2 separate regions of the Homo sapiens genome follow, and region 2 is linked to region 1. The links are contacts of gene promoters, found by promoter capture Hi-C in blood cells and fetal thymus (Javierre and others, 2016). All regions are on one chromosome and are shown on one strand. The core of a region is centred on a gene start or on the middle of the fragment in contact, and the rest is flanking DNA. Distances in the headings are between cores, read along the strand shown.

What was found. The method cuts DNA at HindIII sites, captures the fragments that hold promoters and counts their contacts. A CHiCAGO score of 5 or more calls a contact.
Region 2: a contact is called between a fragment that was not itself captured here and the fragment with the promoter of SEC24D in region 1, in 5 of 17 cell types (neutrophils, activated CD4 T cells, naive B cells and 2 more). The highest score is 8.9, in neutrophils.

The regions. Positions count from the first base shown.
Region 1 is chr4:118,834,757-118,837,461 of GRCh38, forward strand. It overlaps SEC24D (SEC24 homolog D, COPII component), which reads right to left and starts at 1,370. Exons shown (of 23, transcript NM_014822.4): 1 at 1,185-1,370. RefSeq lists enhancers at 726-1,617, 1,238-1,532 and a silencer at 1,044-1,533. The HindIII fragment of the contact is 6,235 bases long and covers 1-2,705 here.
Region 2 is chr4:120,046,100-120,048,799 of GRCh38, forward strand. No RefSeq gene overlaps it. Among named protein-coding and RNA genes, the nearest start is that of MAD2L1, 19 kb to the right of the region's middle. The HindIII fragment of the contact is 799 bases long and covers 876-1,674 here.

The DNA of each region.
Region 1 (2,705 bases), core at 120-2,619:
CAATTTATCTCCAGTTTATTTGCCCCATACAAGCATATTCTTCCTTTTGTTCTTTTATTTGCTACAATTTAAGATAAGAGATCAGTGATACCTGCTAAGACTTAGAATCTGTCTATATTCAAGAAATAACATTTCAAATTAAAAATTTGAAGCCTAAAATTTGTGATTTGATTTTGTTTCCATATTAAACTATAAGTTTCCAAAATAAAAGCAACCATGTAAAAATATTATGAGATCATTTCCTTCTCCTGGGAAGGGGAGAACTGAAAAAGAGGAGAGAGGCAGGCAAAGGCCTTCTGGTCCACTTTGTTTCTGACAACCCCTTTTTCCTCCTCCCACTTAGCAGAGAGAGACGTGGCAGCCTGAGCGCTGGTCAAGCTCATCCAACCAAGAGCACTTAGGAAGTCGGCACGAACACACCTAAGTAGCAGCCTGTTGCTGAGTGACAGAAAAGAGAGGCTGAGATGGTCACTCCAAAGAACAGGAAGCAGCCAGTTCCCTCTGAACTGGTCCTCAGAGGAATCAGCTTCCTCACGCAACCCAGTTTGCCACGTCAAACTTCCTCACACAGAGCACCAAGTTAAAGAAACCTGACTCAGCTTCAAGCGGCGACACGGCAGAAAGCCACTTGGTATAAGCAGGCCTAGGATCAAAATCTGGGGAGCCCCAACCCCAGAACGGCCCCCTGGCTCACTGTCACCCAGCAACTCTAGCCAAGGTGCACTTCTAACCCTGGAACAAGTTCGTATTTGGCCAGATCAGTTTCACTATTCGGATGTCCCGAGGCTTCAAGATATAGTTGCCATTTTTACCATGAATATTTCTAACATTTCCTTCCTTCAAAAAAGGAAATTAAGTTGATAAGGAGATGAGAAAACCGCTGGCAATGACACTCGAATGGTGGCCACTGAGGATCCTAACAAGGCAGTTCCTGCATCCCAAGGCAAAAGGTGGGGGCGGGTAAAAAATGCCCACGCCCACCTCCTGCTCCCCCATCCCGCCGGCCCCACTATTAAACTGCACTAGAAGGCTAAAGAACAAAGAATGAGTTCTCCTCCCGCCGCCACTGCCTCAGGTGAGCACCCGGCCTCCCGCCGCGTCCCCGGGCCGGGCGCCGCAACCCGCTCCGCTGTGCCTGGGCAGGGCTGTCCCGCATGAAGGCGTCCGCGGGTGGGAGGCTTTACCTGTTCCCGCTCCCGCACCCCGCGGGCTTCCGAGCGCTGGCGGCTCTGCGCCTAGTGCCGGCAGCCCTCGGTGGCCGGGCTCCCGCTGCGGTCGCTTCTCCCGCCGCGCCTCTTCCCCGGCCGGCGTCCCCTTAGCCTGGACTCACGCTCGGAGTTGCAGCTGGGCTGGGAACTGCCACGTCAAACCCTTTCTCGGCTGCGCGCCCCCAGCGCCGGGCTTGGACCAGCCGCCGCGCTCCCGCCTGCGCACGCGCACAGCCACCGGCCGCCGCGGGGCGGGGCCACCGGGCTGAGCCTGCGAGCGGCCGAGCGACCTCCCCCTTTTCGCTTTTTCCCTTTTTCCGGTTTTTTGTTTTTTGGTTTTCTTTTTCCCGTCTTTTCTTTCCCCTCCCCCTACAGGTCAAAGCCTTTAACGTCGTGGCTAAATCAGAACCGTATTTTCTCGGCGCAGCCCCGCAGGAAGGAGGGGAGCGCGTTCATTCATTCTTCCATCAACAGGTTGCAGTTTCAGCTCTTCATTCATTACGTATTACTTAAATAACTAATAGTTCAGGTACTGCACTACCGTTACATACGGGAAAGTACACGATCTGGACCTAGGGGAGATTACCGTTTAAAGGCGAATCTGGCACGTGTACACGCACATTTGATGACGTACCCGTGCAATGCACTACAGAGGAAGGAACGCCCAAAGCAGCCTGGCAACGTGTAACGCGGGAGGAGTGGGGGGTGGGGGAGATGTCCCAAAGGAAAAGTGTGGGAAGTGGGGTTTCCATTGATATTGGGGTTGTTAGCGTTGTGTATACTCCTTCTTCCGCATATTCCTTGTTTGTGAAGTAGGATGGCTGATCCCAGCCCCAAACAGGAATCTCTGCATGGAAAAGCACCCAGCGTTTAGCTCACCGTCCTGTGAGAAACAGCTCAGAAATAAAGGCAACCTATATGAGATCTGGAGCTTACCTCTCTATCTCACCCTAAAATCAGGACCATCTGGCTGGTTTCCTATCATCTTTCACTGCTAAATAGAAAGACATTCAGCCACTCCCAGGTTTGGTATAGCTACCACTTTGCTCAAACTTACAAAGTAAAAACCAGCCCGGTGTTGTTGTTTTTAACATGCACTTTCTTCCCGGCTACAAGAAAGCCACTTGACAAATACCTTTACTGATGAACTGCCTAGGTAAAAACGTACATGGGGATGTTGCTACTCCCGAAATGCTACATGAATTGTGCAGGAATTTTAAGTCATTTTAGCAGTAAAGATATATGGTCCATTTATCCCACTCTTAAAAGTTTTTAAGGCATGGGGCAAGGCACAGTGGCTCACACCTGTTATCCCAGCACTTTGGGAGGCCAAGCAGGGAGGATTGCTTGAGGCCAGGAGGCAGTGAGCTATGATCACACCACTGCGTTCCAGCGTGGGCAACAGAGTGAGACCCTGTCTCAAGAAAAAGAAAAAAAGATTTTAAGGTAAGATATCTGGCCTACATCCAGCTTCAACACTGATCAGGTTTGAAAACC
Region 2 (2,700 bases), core at 25-2,524, 1.2 Mb after region 1:
CCAGCTGCATCAAACCCTAACAAGAAAGTCAGCTTGTCCTGTGAAGATTGGAAGCCAGGCATTGACTTCTACTCTCTAGCTATGAAAGTCCTAGATGGCATGTTCTTACAATATAAAGGCTGTTTGATCTACATTGAAGAATTTGTTGTTTAGTGTGGCCACCATCTTCAGTGATCTCATTTAGATCTTCAGGATCACTTGATGCAGCTTTTATTTACACCAGCATTTGCTGCTTCATGTTGCCCTTTCATGTTATGGAGATGCTTCTTCACTTTAACCTCATCAACCAACCTCTGCTAGCTTCCAACTTCTTTTCTTCAGCTTCTTCACCTCTCTCAGGTTTAAGAGAATTGAAGAGAGTTAGGCCTTGCTCTGGAATAGGCTTTGGCTTAAGGGAATGCTGTGGCTGGTTTGATCTTCCATCCAGACCACTAGAACTTTCTCCATATTGGAATAAGGCTGTTTCGCTTTCTTATCATTCATGTGTTCACTAGATTAGCACTTTTACTGTCCTTTAAGAATCTTTACTCCGCATTCACAACTTGGCTAACTGTTGCAAGACTCTTCAGTCTTCCTGGCTTTTGACATGCTTTCCTCACTAAACTTAATCATTTGTACCTTTTGATTTAAAGTGAAAGACATGCAACACTTTCACTTGAACACTTAGAGGTGATTAAGTTCATCTTAAGTTCACAGGACACCAAAATAATCACAATAGTAACATCAGAGATCACTGATCACAAAAATGAATATCATCATAATGAAGAAGTGTGAAATATTGTGAGAATTGCCAAAATGTGACAGAGACACAAAGTGACTGTGTGTCGTTAGTAAAAAAAACACTGATAGATTTGCTCTATGCAGGGTTCCCACAAAGCTTTGATTTGTGAAAAATGCAGTATCTGTGTGTGTGATAAAACGCACAACAAAACAAGGTATGCCTGTATTAGTTTATGTTTTGGGGCACACAGTGTATACAAATATGATTTTAAGACATCAACCAAAAGGAGTAGGGACGAACCTGTAAGGGAGCACAGAGGTGGATGTTATTGAGGTGAAGCTGGTAAAAATTCCAATTAGATTGGCATAACTTTAGGATGTCAGATGTAATCCCCATGGTAGCCACAAAGAAAAATCGCTATAAAATATGTAAAAATGGAAATGAGAAAGAAATGTAAACGTTTTAATATAAAATATCAAGTGAACACAAAAGAAGACAGTAATGCAGAAAATTATTGACAAAAAACTACAAACCATATAGAAAACAAGTAGCAAACTGTTAGAAGTCCCTTTGTTGTTAGTAATTACTTTAAATGTAAATGCATTAAACACTCCAATTAAAGGATTGGCCAAATGGATTAAAAACCATAATCCAAATATATGTTACGTGCAGGAGGCTCACTTTATTTTTTTTTAATTTTGAAATTTTTTATGAGATATGGGATCTCACTATGTTGCCCAGGCTGGACTCGAACTCCTGGGCTCAAATGGTCCTCCTGCTTCAGCCTCCCGGGTTGCTATCACTACAGGCATATACTACTGCGCCTGACATTGAGATTCACTTTAGATCCAAAGGCACAAATAGATGGAATGTGAAAGAATGAAAAAAAGATGTTCCATGCAAACAGTAACCAGAAGCGAGAAGAGATGGCTATACAAATATTTTTTTAAAAAAGCTTTAAATCAGAAAAGACAAGAACAAGAGACAAAGGAGGAGACAAAGAAGGACATTGCACACTTAGAGGGTTCAACCCAGCAGAAGTTATAACAAGTATAAACATGCATGCATCTAAAAACAGTCAATTAAAATACATAAAGCAAAAACTGAAAATTGCATGGATAAATAATCAGTTCTACAATAATAGTTGGAGATTTTAATATCCCACTGTCAATAATGAATAGGACAACCAGACAAAAAATAGGTAGGAAATAGTGAACTTAAACAACACATGAATCAGCTATATCTATCAGACAAAATTATGATTACAAAAAGAAGCATGGTGGTTACCAGGGGCTGGAGGGAGGGGAGAATGAGGGGTTATTGTTTAATGGTAATAGCATTTCCATTTTACAAGATGAAAAAGGTTATGGAGATGGATGGTGGTGATGGTTGCCCAACATTATGAATGTATTTAATACTACTGATTGTACACTTAAAATAATATGATGGCAAATTTATGTTATGTAAAAAACAATTTAAAAAACTAGAAAAAAATGAGAAAAAAGCCAATAAAAATTATTCTTGTTATTTATTTTAATTTGATAGATGAGCTCTTAATAGAATAACAGTGACAGAGTCTGTGTCTCAGTCAGCTCAAGCCACCATAACCAAATCCCATAGACTGGGTTACTTAAACAACAAAAGTTTATTTCTCACAGAAAAAAATTATTTCTCACAGGAGGTTTAAAGTCCAAGATCAAGGTGCTGGCATTTTCAGTTTCTGGTAGGGGCTCTCTTTCTGGCTTGTAGACAGCCACTTTTTAACTATATTTTTACATGGCAGGGAGAGAGAGAGGTGAGGGCGTCAATATATGAATTTAGGGGGACACAATTCAGTCCATAGCAGTCTCTCATTTATTTCTTTAAACTGAATTTTCACCCTAAAAATCACATAGAAGAGATAGTACAAGGTGATGCTATGCCAGTAATACCAACATTTAAGCACATCACAAAGACAAAACTACACTATTTCCTCTTTC